Regions from separate parts of the Homo sapiens genome. Here regions 1 and 3 are each linked to region 2. The links are contacts of gene promoters, found by promoter capture Hi-C in blood cells and fetal thymus (Javierre and others, 2016). All regions are on one chromosome and are shown on one strand. Each heading gives the region's core, a stretch centred on a gene start or on the middle of the fragment in contact. The rest is flanking DNA. Distances are from core to core; before and after follow the strand shown.

The links. The method cuts DNA at HindIII sites, captures the fragments that hold promoters and counts their contacts. A CHiCAGO score of 5 or more calls a contact.
Region 1: a contact is called between a fragment that was not itself captured here and the fragment with the promoter of BTLA in region 2, in 7 of 17 cell types (total B cells, naive B cells, naive CD4 T cells and 4 more). The highest score is 8.3, in total B cells.
Region 3: a fragment that was not itself captured here is called in contact with the fragment with the promoter of BTLA in region 2 in 14 of 17 cell types (total B cells, activated CD4 T cells, naive B cells and 11 more); the score reaches 14.5 in total B cells.

Annotation. Positions count from the first base shown.
Region 1 is chr3:112,311,974-112,314,934 of GRCh38, forward strand. The region is part of intron 1 of LOC105374042 (a long non-coding RNA gene); the gene reads left to right. Among named protein-coding and RNA genes, the nearest start is that of SLC9C1, 19 kb to the left of the region's middle. The HindIII fragment of the contact is 1,837 bases long and covers 787-2,623 here.
Region 2 is chr3:112,497,951-112,501,118 of GRCh38, forward strand. BTLA (B and T lymphocyte associated) reads right to left here and starts at 1,522. Exons shown (of 5, transcript NM_181780.4): 1 at 1,321-1,522. The coding sequence starts at 1,408. RefSeq lists enhancers at 1-105, 974-1,023, 1,114-1,243. The HindIII fragment of the contact is 2,386 bases long and covers 519-2,904 here.
Region 3 is chr3:112,352,586-112,355,515 of GRCh38, forward strand. The region is part of intron 5 of CD200 (CD200 molecule); the gene reads left to right. Among named protein-coding and RNA genes, the nearest start is that of CD200, 21 kb to the left of the region's middle. RefSeq lists an enhancer at 2,174-2,803. The HindIII fragment of the contact is 913 bases long and covers 1,008-1,920 here.

The sequences.
Region 1 (2,961 bases), core at 455-2,954, 190 kb before region 2:
TGTGGGTTTTATGCAAATGTGGCTAAAAGTTGGGTTGCATTATTGTTTACTATAGCAGCAGGTGTCAAGGGCTTCACATATCTATAGTTTCCTTGTTTTTTTCTTCCCCATTTTCTTTGAATATCTCTAAGAACTGCTTATTAATTAGAGTCTGAGACTTGCAAGTATTTCAGCTATAATCCAATGCTATTATACTAGAGCTCTATTGATGGTGGTAAGGAATTGTGGAGAGAAAGCATTCTAAAATCTTATGATTAATTCTCACTCTTTTAGTGGGCCTGTGTACCTTGGCTATAGGCTATTGAGGTGGGAAATTAAAGAAAAATAAAATTAAAAAGAAAGAGAAAAAAGTTTTTCTGTATTAGGCTGATTTGTCCCAGGGGCAGCAACAGGCACAGCCCAGACCCAGGAAGAGTCTTGATAATATTATCTAATGTGCTCTGGAGACTCTCCCAGCACTCTCTCAACATAAGGAGAAGAAAAACAAATTTTCCTTTGTTTTATGGAATGAGTTCACAGATTCCTGTTCTCTGTAACTAGTGACTTCAAGTAATCTGTTTTATCTAAGCAGTAGAGTGAAGGTCATGAGCGTCTGAGCAGATCTCAGTTACAGTCACCTGGGCGCCATAGTGAAGGTTATAGGATACGCCTGTGCCTAGGCAAACCCAGATAATGGACATCTGGGTTGCATAGCAATGGTTATGTGTAATCCTGAGTTATGAACCTGTTACAATTTGATTAACCATCTTTGTCCTGCCTCTGTATCCCTGCTTTCATGCCACTGTAAGCTTACTTCAAGCTAGCCCACCTTCTTTTGTGAAGTGTGTATAAAAGTCAAGTGCTGTCTTCGTTCTGGGCCCAGTCTTTTGGACGTTGAGTCAGCTGGGCCTGAGTGCACTCAATAAAAGATTCTCCTGTTTCAACTCTAGGTCTCTCTCTCATTCTCCTGAATCCCACAACACTTATGACCTTCATACATTTTCTTACTTATTTTTCTCTCGCTTACCACTTTAGATGAGACAGGAAAGCAAGAAATGACTGGAGTTAGGTCATTTTCCTTCCATCTACATAAGATAAGGTTCTGGTTATATATATCTTTTTTTTTCTTTTTTTCCTAGAAAGTAGGTTTTTTTTTTTTTAATGAAAAATGCACTGGGCTTATTTAAAAATGGTTACATTTCCTCTTCTGTTTTTAAACATATGAAGTGATTTTTCTTGGCTCTTTACTATGAAAAGCTGATAAGGTTCCTGGAGGTGAAACCTATGGAATTGTGGGGTCTCTCTAAGACTGCAGCTCTGAAGAGTTTATCACTCTCAAGCTGATTCACATGAAGCCTCTGGCAGTCCATCAAAATTATCATTGATATGTCCCTACCATTTTATAACACCAGTGACTTTCATTCCGAGTAAGCTGATCTCAGTGCCTTTCTATTCACGTCTCTGCTGATTTCAGGGTTGTAGTTTTCCCTGTGCCTTTAATTCTCTGAAGAGTCTAATAAAGACCATTGATTTTCAGTTTGTTCAGCTTTTTTCTTGTGTTAGGATGAGATGATGAATTCCAAGCTCTTTGTATGTTAAAACTGAAACTGGACATCTTATCTATTTTGGAATATTGACCTTGAATCCAGGTTCTTGCTGAATTGACTTGTTAATTGTAATAATTTCTCTGTAAATTTTTCTAATTCTTTAAGTACAAAATCATGTCACCTGGAAATAAAGACTGATTTAATGCATTCCCATCTTTATTCATTTTATTTCTTTCTCATGGCTTATTGTCCAAGCTAGGATCTCCAGTCAACCATTGGAGAGAAGGACTGAGAGTGGTGGGAATTTTTGTCTTGTTACTGAGCTCAAAGGAAAAGCATTAACAGTTTCACCATTAAGTGTAATGTTAGCTGAAGGTTTGTTGTAGTTATCTTTCATTATATAAAGGAAATTCTCTTATATTCCTAGCTAGCTATTATTCATTCATAAATAGGTATAGAAACATATTAAATGCTTTTTTCTGAATCTATTAATCACATTATTTTTCTCACTTTTTCTGTTAATATGGCTGTGTTAGTCCATTCTCACACTGCTATAAAGAAATACCAGAGCCTAGGTAATTTATAAAGGAAAGAGGTTTAATTGACTCACGGTTCCACATGGCTGGGGAGGCTTCAGGAAACTTATGATCATGGTGAGAGGCAAAGAGGAAAGGAGGACCTTCTTCAGATGGTGGCAGGAGAGAGAAGTGACTGAGCAAGAGAGAAGCTATCAAACACTTATACAACCATCAGATCTTGTGAGAACTCGCTCACTATCATGAGAACAGCATGGGAGGAACTGCCCTAATGATCCAATCACTTCCCACCAGTTCTCTCCCTCAGCACCTGGGGATTACAATTCAAGATGAGATTTGGGTGGGGACACAAAGCCTAACCATGTCAATGGTGATTTAAATTGATTGATTTGTGAATATTAAATCATCCTTGCATTACTGGAGAGAAGGAAACCTTAGTGATAATTACTGTGTATCCTTTTATAACGTATTGGTTAATTTGATTATCCAATATTTATTTTAGGATCAAAGCCCAGGAAAGATACTGGTCTGCAATTCTTTTTTCTTGAAATATTTTTATTAAGCTTTATTATTAAGCTTATACTGTGTAAGTAAAAAAAGTAATTAAGGCAGATCTTGATTGATTTTGAGATTCATTTTGCCACGGTTGAGGATGTGCCCGGGAAAAACAAACACAAGTCACAGTAGGATCTGTGCCCTGTGCTTTTTTTCAGAGAGGATTTTGGGAATGTCAATGTTTAAAGAGGAAAGAGGAAGCAGAAGGGGAAGAAAAAAACAGGAAGGAGGGTAGTAATTAGCACTCAGTGAGTCTGTTTTACATGTGAAGAGGAGGGAGTGGGACAAAGTCAATTATGCATTCATTTCATGCTCAGTAAATCTACATTCTACATAACATAAGC
Region 2 (3,168 bases), core at 272-2,771:
AGGCAGGTGGATCACTTGAGGTCAGGAGCTCCAGACCAGCCTGCCCAACATGCATTGCATCCATAGCTTGGCTGACTTTCTTAAAAAACAGGTTGATGGCAAGAAAAGAGAACTGAGTAGATGTTATAAATAGTTAAGTACAAATCTATCACTACTTCTTGCGAAAATGCTCAGGCTGCCACACTGATGATGAATAGATAGCTCGTTCTTCCCAAACTGAGTGCAGTAGAGTGTTGCAGTGCTCAGTTGGGTAGGACAGATGTTGGATAATTGGGGTTATCCAACATCTCTACTAAAAATACAAAAATTAGCTGTGCGTGGTGGAAGGTGCCTGTAATCCCAGCTACTAGGGACGCTGAGGCAGGAGAATAAATTGAACCCGGGAGGAAGAAGAATCGATTGAACCCGGGAGGCAGAGGATGCAGTGAGGCGGGATCACGCCATTGCACTCCAGCCTGGGTGACGAGAGCAAAACTCTTGTCTCAAAAAAATAAAAAAATAAAACCTGAAAAATCAGAAGCTTCTGATGAGCCACTCATAGGCTTTTCCTCTTGATAATATGTGGGTTCCTATGCAATATAAGGTAGGAAGCGACTTTACAATAAAAAAGAAATTGCCTTTTTTTTTTTTTTTTTTTTTTTGCCTGTATAAAGTCTTTGCAGGGGTGGCTAAATATCATCTTTGCAGAATCCAACTTATTTTCTGTGTTCAATTGACAACCAAGTAGGAACCATTCCCTTTCAACAAAATAGAAGCAATGACGAAAAGTTCTGCTCCTATATTTTGTAGCATTTTCTCAATCGGTATTCTCAAGGCATACATCCCAATGAAGCAAGTATAGAGATTTTATTTAGAGGTAATATTATTTGAGGGTAACCATGGAGATATGTATAATTCCGATTATCCAACAACTGTCCTACCCAACTGAGCACTGCAGCACTCTACTGCACTCAGTTTGGAAAGAACGAGCTATCTATTCATTATCAGTATGGCAGCCAGAGCATTTTTGCAAGAAGTAGTGATAGATTTGTACTTAACTATTTATAACATCTACTCAGTTCTCTTTTCCTACCATCAACATGTTTTTAAGAAAGTCAGCCAAGCTATTGATGCGATGCCTATGATTAGGCAGGTGAATACTATGTTCTAATTTGGTTTATGCTCTACGATGTCTTCGGTAAGCAAATGTAACAGCTTGGTTTCATCTACGATTACCCACTTCGTATAAACGTTACACCGTACTAAGTTCAGCAAGGGAGAATGTTGCCTCCAAGACCCCCTGAGAAATAAAACCAGAAATAACCTAAGCAGGTGCCTTACCATGGATGTTCCAGATGTCCAGATATGGGATTAAGAAGAAGACCCAAAATAATTTCCCAGTTCCAAGCATGGCAGGCAATGTCTTCATTTCCTGCACATATCAGTGATGGAAAAACTGCTCAAGTAGAAGGCTTTGCTTCGTCTTCTGAGTGCTGCAGAGTTGGGTCAGTTTACCTACCCCAGTGGCATCTGTGAAATAACTAAAAAAAAAAAAAAAAGAAGAGAGAGGTGGTAAGAGAGGAGAGTAGGAAGAGCCTGGATGATTTTGTGAAAAAAAGTGAACAGAAAGACGATGTGGTACTCTGTTCTGTGGTTTTTGCTTCTTGTCAGGTTGGCTGTTCACTTTCAAACACTGTGATCTGCAAAGCAGCTCAGTCCTTAACTTCTCCTTCCGCTCTACCACGTTTTTGCCCCAGGTTGAGGTTTTTCCTGCACTCAATGTTCAGTGAAATGAGCAATTAAACTTTAAAGAAATCTGTATTGTTGCAGTCTTTAAGTTGAGATTTTAATCAAATTAAGGTCAGGAAATTTATGGTAAAACTATCAATGGTAAGTATACATTTTCCCCTTTGTGATAGCTTGTGATTATGAAACTTCTTTTATGTAAAAGATTTTAGGTTTCTTTTTTTTCCTGTACATGTCACGGTAAGATGAGGATGCTTATTGTCATTAAACCAGTGAAGATTTATCTCAGGTTATGGAGAAAATGAGTGACAGGAAGCACTTCCTCAACAGAAGAAGGAAGAGCAGCCGTCTTTAATCTGTGGATACATATCAATGGAACAAGATCATCATTAATATTGGCTACATGTTCTCTCTAGATAATAAAGTTCTAATCTAAAGGAGATCTTGAATATCAATTAAAGGAAATTTCCATTTTAAACATTCTTCATGCAGTTGTTGTCTCGATGAAGTAGAATAGAAACAGTAAAGGAAGAAATGGAAAAGTTCAAGATCAGATAGCACAGGCCACCATAGGACTGTTTTCTCCACATCCACTTGTAATAATTAGCTTAGCTTATAGTCATAGGAGCTAATCAAATTCATCTGCCATTTGAGACTCCAAATGAGAGATCTAGATTTGTGGCATTAGTGATCATTGACAGAAGTCGATTATATAAGTTTTTTCCTCAGAGACTGATGATTTTATTCCAAGGCCAAACTTCAATAGTTTTAAGTTCAAGGAAAGTTTTAAGAGCAAGGAAAGTGTATAGATTGCTGGACATTTTGACCTGACATGGGAAACTGATGGGCAATACTTAATTCAGAGCTCCCAGTTGAGTTGCCAAGGGTAAATTAAAATTAAAAAACAGTTATCATGTATTTATTGAGTCAAATAGACAATGTGCTATGGTTGGAGATGAATGATGAATGAGTTGCTATTGCTGATTTTAAAGAACTCGTTCAATCAGTATTACGACTTCCTCACATCCACCTTTAGTGTTGGTCTTATAATATAGTATAATACAGAGAGGGTACACATAGCCTTTTAGAATTTCTGTTACTAATCAAATAAACATCCTGGGAAATATTAAGGCAGTATTTTCACAGCTCCTTCCTTTTCCTGTGTTCACAGTGAGTAAAAGCTTCTTGAGGCAGCTGAAGCAAGGCTCATTGTCCCTTTAAAATGGCCCACAGGTCAAAAGCCATAACCTTATGGCTTATGGGTTACATAAGCCCAAACCAGAGAGAGATCATATTAACTTTATCTCAGCTTAAAACTGTTATGTCACTATTTTAAATATTTTTCATATAAAAAGTCCATGCTAATTAGACAAAATTCGGAAAAAATCTTATGTAGCATCTAATGTATTTTTAAAAGATTTATATATTTCTTGCTTTTATTAG
Region 3 (2,930 bases), core at 214-2,713, 150 kb before region 2:
AAGCAAAGGAGACAGACGAATAAGTTTTTGAATTTATTGAGTGTGAGCAGACAAAGAATTATCTTCATGTAGCTGTCCAGTAGCCAATAATAAAAATCTGGTAAGTAAGGTAAGTCTGTTAAGTAAGGTCAATTCTGTGTTGGGTAAATGACCAAAACAGAAGTTTATTTTAGGTCATAATCACTACTCATTGCTCACAAATGCCTAAGCAAACTTACAGTTACTGATGTTATTTTTACGTAGAAGTTAGACGACCATTACTTTTCTTGTGATCCTGTATAATGCCAGAGAGCATGACGTTGGTTTTTTCCAACTGCGAAGTAGCACAGGCCATTTTTCTGCACCACTCCTGATAGAATTATCACAGTTACTTCCCAGGAGACTACCACAGTAAGACTAATAAGATTTCAAAGAGCATTCTTTTCTCTTTCATGAATCCAGCACTTTAAAACAGTAAGTGAGAAAGAATTAAAATTTCCTAGGGAAATTTTCCACCATCTCGAAATACTTCTTTCTATTAAAACCCAGTGATTTCATAAAGTTGTGCCTTTCACATATATGACAATGTAGTTAAATTTGGAGTTGAGAATAATCTTTTATTTCTCATTAGTCAACCCACCAACAATTACATGCTTCTCAGAAACAATAAAAGAAACTTCACTTTGAGGCAGATCATCATAGACAATCACCTAATTTTTAGGCAGCTTTATTTTGTTTGGTTTGGTTTGCTTTGCTTTGGTTTGGTTGAGTCAAGGCTGCTTTGGAGAACAATAGAAAATTTAGACAATCATGTAAAATTTATATGCCAAACTTCACTTTTTTTTCAAGTACTAGCTAATCCATGTAGAAATATGTTTTTCATCTGCATGAGCTGTATATTTATCTTGATTTCCTTCTCTTCACAATAACCTAACCTATGAATGGGTTCCTGACAATGTATAATAACAATGGCAAAGTTAATAAAACGTCATTTCCTGGATAACAGCATGTGACTTTCTCCTATTTTAAGCTTAATACTTAATACAAACAACAAAGGTGTTCGATAAACAATTTGTGATGATGTAATTGGTCATTAGTTGAAAGGGGAAAACAAAAAATATCTGTTCACCCCTCCTGAAATAACAACCTTTGCTTTGCTCAGAAAGCACTTTTGCTTCCCGTACAAAGGCTGTATGAATGGGTAGCCCTCTGTCCGGGCTGTATGAAATAAGAACCTTTGCTTTGCTCAAAAAGTACTTATGCTTCCCTGACAGAGGCTGGATGAATGGCACTACCCAACCCCACCCCAGTATCCTCATAGTTCCAGGAGGAAGAAATGTGATGCTTTACATGAGAAAAGCGATAAAGAATCTTCATTGAACTGCTTAGATTAGTATTGCTGGGAGAAATCTTGAATTCCAGGGCTATTTTTCCGCAAAAATTTTACAAATTTTGGGTGATTTACCTATCATGCCAAGATGACATACATAATCTTATCACAAAACCCTTAGCAAACAGATTCTTAATGCCTGGACATTCTTGCCTGGAGCTGTTCTTTGCTGTTCTCTCTAACATCTAAACCCACATGGGCATAGATGACCCAAATTTTAAGTTTCAGTCTGTATGTGGGGAACATCTCTAGGAATCAAGACATCTCAGTCTCCTGCCCAATAATTCAATGTGTGTTCAGTCCTCAAATGGCATACTCATTCCCTTGGCTTTTTGGCCATGGGGCTTTTCAAGGAGATTAGCTGTCAGTACCTGTTAGACTAATTAATGAAAAACAAAAAGGATGAGAAAATCTACCAGCTGAAAAATCCTCTAACATCTCTGCTCCTTTTGCATTTTAGTTTGCATATATCCTTTACCTAGTGTCTATTACCAGTTTGTTTTGTTTGGAACCGCTGTGCATTTCAGTAGTATAGTCACACCCATATAATAAGCTTGCCTCTAAACAGATACAAGGCCCTAGCCTCTACTAACAAAAGAAGCCAACTGTATGCTATTTAAACTGGAAAAGATTGGGCCACTTAATGAAAGTACTCAACATGGCTTACAGAGGGGGAAACATCATAAATGCTGTATTAATTTTCTATTGCTTCTTTACCAAATTATCACGCACTTAGCGGCTTAAAACAACACACATGTATTATACTACAGTTCTAGAGATCAGAAGTCCAACATGGGTCTCACTGGGTTTAAAACAAGGTGTCTGCAGGGAGACATTCCTTTCTGGAGGCTCTAGGGGAGAATCCTTTTTTTCCCTCTCTCTCTTTTCCTGCTTTTAGAGACTGCCCACTTTCCTTGCCTTGCATCTTCAAAACCAACAATGTCCAGTTGAGTCTTTTTCACACTGAATCACTCTAAATCTGAAACATTTGTCTCCTTTTTCCTTTATAAGGATCCTTGTGATTACAATGGGCCCAACTGCATAATCCATCTCAGGGTCCTTAATTTAATCACATCAGCAAAATTCCTTTAGCCATGTAAAGTAACATATTCACAGATTCCTGGAATTAGAATATGGATGTCTTTGGGGTGCCATTATTATGCCTATCACAAATGCTAAGAGGGTGTGGGAGTGACTTACTTAGAGGGACAGCTGTTTACTGACCTCCCAGTGGAAGCATTCTCTCTCTGTAATTCCATAGCCTTTGCTCTGTTCCTGGCAACTCTCTATCAAAGAACTTCAAAACCTGGTCAGAACCTCTGACCAGGCAAGGCTTTATTTTCCAGGATTATATTTTGTCTCTCAAATCTGTAATGCAAAAGCATCACTTCTGCTTTCCCTTGTTTTCTATCACTAACTATAATATTACAAAAACTTTTTTTTTCTTAGAATCTCAGTTCTTGCATATTTCCTGCTTCTCCCTATTCCTACCTTTTCATAGAGGAAGCAATTCTGACTTCCTTTGTCTTCGTCATAAGCATCCCGTAAACACAAGTTCACA